2 separate regions of the Homo sapiens genome follow, and region 2 is linked to region 1. The links are contacts of gene promoters, found by promoter capture Hi-C in human tissues and cell types (Jung and others, 2019). All regions are on one chromosome and are shown on one strand. Each heading gives the region's core, a stretch centred on a gene start or on the middle of the fragment in contact. The rest is flanking DNA. Distances are from core to core; before and after follow the strand shown. Region 1 holds the start of TMEM51 (transmembrane protein 51). Region 2 holds the start of LOC124903854 (a long non-coding RNA gene).

Evidence for each region. Contacts are between HindIII fragments. The study calls those that stand out against the background at their distance.
Region 2: a contact is called between a fragment that was not itself captured here and the fragment with the promoter of TMEM51 in region 1, in 1 of the 25 tissues and cell types used here (pancreas).

The regions. Positions count from the first base shown.
Region 1 is chr1:15,152,097-15,155,779 of GRCh38, forward strand. It overlaps TMEM51 (transmembrane protein 51), which reads left to right and starts at 1,651. Exons shown (of 4, transcript NM_001136218.2): 1 at 1,651-1,858. TMEM51-AS1 (TMEM51 antisense RNA 1) reads right to left here and starts at 368. Exons shown (of 5, transcript NR_027136.1): 1 at 195-368. RefSeq lists silencers at 1,474-1,743, 1,804-1,853, 1,944-2,123 and enhancers at 1,833-2,494, 2,274-2,363, 2,495-3,156. The HindIII fragment of the contact is 16,508 bases long and covers 1-3,683 here.
Region 2 is chr1:15,600,564-15,604,266 of GRCh38, forward strand. LOC124903854 (a long non-coding RNA gene) reads right to left here and starts at 2,980. Exons shown (of 3, transcript XR_007065483.1): 1 at 2,526-2,980. The HindIII fragment of the contact is 5,748 bases long and covers 1-3,703 here.

The DNA of each region.
Region 1 (3,683 bases), core at 401-2,900:
CTATAAAGTGGGCATAACAAATAACCGCCTCCTAGGTTATGAGGATTAAATGAGATGGTTCAGGGGATGTGGGTGGTAACCCCGCCCCTGGTTCATAGCAAGGATGTGAGGAATAGCAGTTGCTGTCATAGACATGGAGACTGTTTCCCCAAATGCCTTCCCACCCCCAAATCATAAGGCAGACCCAAACTTGCCTTTTTGTGGACGCCAAGGTTCTGTCGAGCTGTTAGGGTGCAAGTTAAGAAGCCAGAATGGCGGGCTGAGGGGAGAAATGCCCGCATGTTACAACTCTGCAGGTGTACACACGTGGACACCATATGTACCCATGAATTCCGCCTTTGGAAGTGAACTTGATTGCAGCCTATTTTCGTCTGGAGGCGGTGGATTCCCGGTAGGAGGCGCCTTCAGTCCTCGGCTCGATCCTGTGACGCCAGCCAGCTGCCTATCGGCTTCTCAGTGTTTGAACTTCAAAGGGCTGGACGCTCACCCAAGAAGGGGACCCCGGCCTGACCTCTCTCGGAATTCAAAAAAATCTAAGGCTCAGAGAGGGAATGGGAGCTGGCTCTTCCCTCTGTGTTTAGCATCCACGTTTTTTGGCGGTCTGGCTGAAACCAGCCCACCCTAGTTCGGGCGCCAGAGCAACGCAGTTCCGAGGGCAGATCTCCAAGGGGCGGAGGCAGAGCCGCGGGTGAGAGGCTTCCGCGCCGACTTCGGGTTTGCACTCCCCGGAGCCAGAACTCCGTGGCGGCTCCGGGCCTCCGTGGATCCGAGCAGAGACTGGCTGCCCGCCTGCCACTCGCAGGCTGGGAAAACGCCAGCCGGTGCCTCGCCGGGAAAGTTCTCGGCAAAGCTGGGGATGAGCCCTCAGCAGGGCAGGCTCCCGGTGCAGCGCGCCCCCATCCATTGCCCGCGCGCAAGAACCCGGAATGGGCCCCACCTGGGCCGGGACTCGGGCGTGCGATCCCGAGGGCGCCCTGGGGACCACGCATCGGGTGGGGACCCTGGCCGAGGGCGTGAGCTGACTCAGTTTTTAAAAACTCGCTTCCTCCTTCCCTACTTGTGCCGGTCACTCACCTCGCTGGGAACCAGCCCAGGGCAGAAGGGGGAGAGGGAGGCGGTGGCCTCCCCAGGAAGGAGGAGAGGTGAGTATCCCGCCAGGTAAAGGCGGGGCGGCTGGCGGAGCTGTGCCTCGGCGTCTGCGCCTGGTGTGGGAGGAAAGCGGGTCTCCCAGCTCCACTTAAACCCCTAAAACCTGGGACTTCTAGCTTGAGACATTCCCCGACCACCACCCGTCACACACACGCGCGTGCGCGCACACACGCATGCACACCGATTCTCTGGGCCCTAGGGAGGAGGGGGGATCAGGGCTCTATTTTCTCCCGACCCCCTCTTATCCAACTCGGCTGGCAAGGGTTGGGGAGAACTTAGGCCCAGCCCCCGGCACACGCTCAGCGCGCTCCAGCGGCATACGCTGGGGAGTGGGTGCCCGCCTCGCTCAGCTGCGATCCCTCGCCTCGGGCCCGGGGGTGGTGCCGAGGGCCGGGAGGGAGGGTCGGCCGGTGGGCGGTGCTTCTCCGGGCTGGAGGCCGCTCCTGGCCGGCACCGCCCTCCGCCTCCCGCGGTCCCTCCCTCCCGCACGCCGGCGCTCCCAGGCCGCGCTTCCTGCGTCCCCAACCCGGTCCCTGAGAGGGCAGTGCGCCCTCTCCACCACTGCGTTCCCTCGGCTAAGAATCCCCCGAACCCCAGCCCCGCGATCGCGGCGCCCACCGAGGAGGCCGCCCGGGTGGGGCGCGGGGGTCGCGAAGCCCGCAGTCCCGGACCGCCCAGCCGAGACGGAGCCGGACCCGCCGCCTCCCGGGTGAGTCTCAGCCGCCGCGCCTTGCGCCCGCTGCTTCCCGCGGCGCGCTGTCGGTTCCCCACAGGGCCGTGTAAGGGGGCCGAGGCCCGTTTGGGTCTCCTGTCCGTCCGTCTGTCCGCCGAGCGCTTCCCGCCTGGGGTCGACCACCGGGAGGACTCCGCACCCCGCACCCTCTGCGGCCGCGCCCCGCCGGCGCGGGACGCTCCCGCCTCCCGGGCACCGCGCCTGGCCAGCTGGCCTCGGCTGGGGAAGGCAGCTGGCCTTGGGGGCCCCCTGTTGGCGGGAACAGGTGCTATCCGCCCGGCGGGCTTCGAACCCTTGGCTTCGCCAGAAGCGCTTTCAGCGCGTGGTTAGGAGCAGAACTTCCCAGTAGGTCCCAGGAAACCACCTTGGCGCTTTGCTCGCGCATCCCTTACTGTATGGAAGTCGGGGCCTTTTAGGGATTTAGATTCGTGTGTGTGTATGTGTGTGTGTCGCTCTACAAGCAAACACGGGGGTAAAGAATCGGGCATGAGCAAAGTGGATTGAAACTCGAGTCCTTCCCTGAGCGCGTCGGTTTCTTCATCTGTGAAACTGACATGACAACGTCCCAGGGTGCGGCGGGGCATTCATGCCCAGCACCCAGCAAGCACTCAGCGGTAAGTTACGTTACCGGGCCTAGGGGAGAGCAGAGTACAAATCAGATCTCAAATCAGCGCACAAACGGGAGGCGCTTGGCCCGGCGCGCCTGGTCTGCATTACAGGATAATGGTCTCTTTCCCAACCAGCGGTGGGGGCGAGAGACCTGGCCCCTCCCCCACGGTTTCCCCAGGGAGCAGCCCGTGGGGTGTCCTGCGCAGCGCTCCGAGGTGCCTGTGACGGTGCATGGGACTGCGGGTCCTTCCCAACAGCAGGGGAGGTCTGGCTGCTGGGAACCCGGGCGCTGCCGGAGTGGGGTGGGCGGGGACGAGGTGGGCGGGGCAGGGACCCGAACCGGGAGGTAAGTCAGCGGGTGGAAGGCTTTCCCCTCTAGGACCGGCCGGCTTCTGGCTTTCCTTTTGAATGGGTTACCCGGAGAACAGCTTGTCTAGGGAACTGTTGGCCCTGGGACCGTGAACAGCTTTCACACCCCGGAAACCTGTCACAAGAGGATCCTGACCTATTGGGACAGAGCCCCTGCCCCTCCAAATATCTCACTCCACCAATTGAGAGGTACCCCCAGACTGGGAGAAAAGGCCAAAGAAAGAGAGAGGAGGCTAGTGGTGAACCTGCTCCTCACGGCTTCGGAGCTGACAGCTCTCTGATGGGGTGTCTGGGGCCTGCCCCAGTGACCCAGAGCCCAGAAGCCTCAGGGAGCCCCCAGCCTAGTGAGGGAGTCAGGGATACTCATGAAAAGTGTTGCAGAATTGGCGATACAGTCAGGCCACACCACTTGCTGGCTGTGTGACCTGACCTCTCTGAGCCTCAGCTTCTTCATCTGTAAAATGGGATGATGATCTCCAAGGGCGAGGTGGGGTATTTATGCCTAGCACATGAAGTATTCTATAGTAAGTTATGTCACAGGGCTTAGACGAGAACAGAAGAAAGGAAATAACTCAGGAGGTCCTGCTAAGAAAAGAGTATTAGAATATTCATCAGGGAACTGGAGTCCCCCCAGGGAACAGGGGAGGAAGGGTGTCTGGGCAGATCGAACAGCACAGGCAAAGGCACAGCGACAGGAGAGTGCCTGGGGTGTGCTGGGCTGGGGAAGGTGCTCAGGCAGTGGAGGGTGTGGAAAAGTAAAGGGAATGGAAGGTCCGGAGTGAGCTGGACTGGACAGGTGGGGGCTTTCTTGGAATCATTCAAC
Region 2 (3,703 bases), core at 458-2,957, 450 kb after region 1:
TCTTGAACTCCTGACCTCGTGATCCACCTGCCTTGACCAGCCAAAGTGCTGGGATTACAGGCGTGAGCTACCGTGTCGCTGGATACTTTTTTTTTTTTCGAGATGGAGTTTTGCTCTTGTGGCCCAAGCTGGAGTGCAGTGGTGCCATCTTGGCTCACTGCAAACCCCGCCTCGTGGGTTCAAGCAATTCTCCTGCCTCAGCCTCCCGAGAAGTTGGGATTACAGGCGCCCACCACCATGCCTGGCTAATTTTTGTATTTTTAGTAGAGATGGGGTTTCACCATGTTGGCCAGGCTGGTCTCAAACTGCTGACCTCAGGTGATCCCCCCGCCTCGGCCTCCCAAGTGCTGGGATTACAGGCTCGAGCTACCACACCCAGCCAGCTTGATATTTTTAAGCCCATTATTTCCAATATTGTGAATTCTCAGATTTTCAAGTAATAAAATAAGCAAAATGAATCCTTAATAAAAATTCTATCTTGGCAACGCTATTTGTCATTTCCATCCTATGACTTTCTCTTCATATGTAACTGAAATTTCATAAATATTAAGAAATTGTTGTTTGGGCATAAGAATCAGATATGGAAAGGAGGCAATTGTGCTATTAACCGTGTCACTTAGGGCTACTGCTATTTGAGGCGTGCATCACACCAGCAGAATCATATACACCTGGGAGCTTGTCAGAACTGCAGAAATTCTCAGGACCTGCTCCAGACCTAATGAATCAGAATATACAGTTTAACAAGGTTCCTGGCCGGGCGCGGTGGCTCACGCCTGTAATCCCAGCACTATGGGAGGCCGAGGGGGGTGGATCACGAGGTCAGGAGTTCAAGACCAGCCTGGCCAAGGTGGTGAAACCCCGTCTCTACTAAAAATACAAAAATTAGCCGGGCGTGGTGGTGTGCGCCTGAAATCCCAGCTACTCAGGAGGCTGAGGCAGGAGAATTGCTTGAACCCGGGGGGCAGAGGTTGCAGTGAGCCAAGATCGCACCACTGCACTCCAGCGTGGGTGACAGAGTGAGACTCCGTCTTAAAAAAACAAAAGATTGCTAAGTGGTTACTACACACATTTGAGAAGCACTGGCCCTCTCCATGCAATACATTGAGCAAATACAGTCACATGTCACATGATCTTTAGTCAACAACAGACTGCATATAAGACAGTGGTTCCATCAGATTACAATATTGTATTTTTATTGTACCATTTTTAGTGTACCCTTTCTATGTTTAGATACAAAAATACCAACCATTGTGTTACAATTGCCTACAGTATACAGTACAGTAACATGCTGTAGAGATTTGTAGCGTAGGAGCAGTAGGCTGTATCATATAGCCTAGGTGTGCAGTAGGCTATACTATCTAGGTTTGCGTAAGTACACTCTATGGGCAGGACTCAGTGGCTCATGCCTGTAATTCCAACACTTTAGAAGGTCAAGGCAGGAAGACTGCTTGAGCCCAGAAGTTGGAGACCAGACTGGGCAACAGAGGGAGAAACCCTGTCTATACAAAAAAAATTAAAATTAGCCGGCTGTGGTCTAGACATGGTAGCTCAGGCCTGTAATCCCAGCACTTTGGGGGGCTGAGGCAGGTGGATTGCTTGAGACCAGGAGTTCGAGACCAGCCTGAGAAACATAGCAAGACCCTTTCTCTATAAAAAGAAAATTAAAATATACAAAAATATATAATTTAATTTTAAAAAATTAGTCTGGCATGGTGATGCAGGCCTGCAGTCCCAGCTACTCAGGAGGCTGAGGCAGAAGTATCACAGCAGATCGAGGTTGCAGCGAGCTGTCATGGCACCACTGCACTGCAGCCTGAGCGACACAGCAAGACCCTGTCTCAAAAACAAAACAAACAAACAAAAAAACTCTATGATATTCCAATGATAGATTCACCTAAGATGCATTTCTCATATCTCTGTTAAACAATGCATGACTATAATTTCTCCGGTCATGTTTCCTTATGTCTGAAAACAAAGGGCACTGAAACCTGTTTGTTCACTTTAGTTCACAGGCTGATTAGAAAAGTAAGTAAAATCCAATCCAAATATAAATTAAATACACGTGAAATACCAAACCCTCTAGTAAACAGCGAGCTACATACAAGTCCCAGACACTCCACGACCGTTTCTAGATTGAAAATCCTAGGCCAGGCGCAGTGGCTCACACCTGTAATTCCAGCACTTTGGGAGGCCGAGGTGGGTGGATCACGAGGTCAGGAGTTCAAGACTAGCCTGGCCAAGATGGTGAAACCCCGTCTCTACTAAAAAAAAAAAAAAAAAAAAAAAAAAAAAAAAAAAATTAGCTAGGCGTGGTGGTGGGCGCCTGTAATCCCAGCTACTGGGAGACTGAGGCAGAGAACCCGGGAGGCAGAGGTTGCAGTGAGCCGAGACCGCGCCACTGCACTCCAACCTGGGCGACAGAGCGAGACTCCATTTCAAAAAAAAAAAAAAAAGAATATTTAAGTCTTTTCACTTCTGGGAATACACACACACACACACATATATATTTAATCGAAACACGTTACCTTTCACTCAACAACTATTCAAGACAGAAACCATTTCGGGTAAGCAGACTCCTACAGGGTCCCTACTGCACATTTCTCATCGGTGGTCAAAGCAACAAAACGTGAACTAAGCCACAGGGTAGCTGCAGGAAGCTCTATGCCTGGGACCACTACAGGCAGGCACTAGTTTCCCTGTCCACCACTGCCCGAAATGGAGTCGGGCCCGGTTCTCCTGAGCTGAGCAGGCCAAAGCAGGGAGTCCGTGAGTGGACCGGGCATAGCCAGAGCGACGCCGCAGCACCCCAGCCGCAGGGTCAGCCCCAAAAGCAGCAGGGCCCGCTTGATCGCGGATGCCGGGACGCCCTCGTGCAAGCCTCGAAGGGGGGCTGCCACCCCGAACATTCGCCAGAACGAAAGCGGCAGCCAGGAGAAGCCCTCGCAGGTGCTGTAGGGATCCAAGCGCTTGAGCTGAGTCCGAAACTCGCACAGCAACCTCGGGAGGATAAACTCCAGCAACCAGAATCGGGTTGGCGTCGCCTAGCAACCAGGAGCCAAATGCGCGGACGCCAGGCATTGGCCTGCACGTGTCACGTGAGCCAGCGCCGCTGCCCAGTGGGAGATTACGCCGCAGGCACGTGATGCGGCGCAACCGCCCTTTGGCAGAGCTTTTCGCGAAGGCAGTTGTGGCTCTGAGCGCATAGGCGAGGCATTCCTGGGGTTTGCGCCGTATCCTTTTACAAAGTCCTGGCTTTGGCTGGTGCGACCAAAGAAAGGAAACCGGCGCTTGAGACTTGTCTGGGCTGGCTATGGTGAAGCAGTGAAACGGTGCAGAATTGTGTCAATGAGGCTAGTTCAGTTGTGCAAGAGCATTTCCTCAAAGTAAGACAGAAGCTTTTAGTTACGTCAACACCTGCTAATGTTAGGCTGGCCAGAAATTTCCTGACAAATAATGGGTGAAGGTCGGGCGTGTGGTCGCTCATGCCTGTAATCTCAGCGCTTTGGGATCACTTGAGGTCAGGAGTTCGAGACCAGCTTGGCCAACTAGGCGAAACCCCATCTCTACTGAAAGTACAAAAATTAGCCGTGTGTGGTGGCGCGCATCTGTAATCCCAGCTACTCTGGAGGCTGAGGCAGGACAATCGCTTGAACCCAGGAGGCAGAGGTTGCAGTGAGCTGAGATCACGCCACTTAAAAGAAAC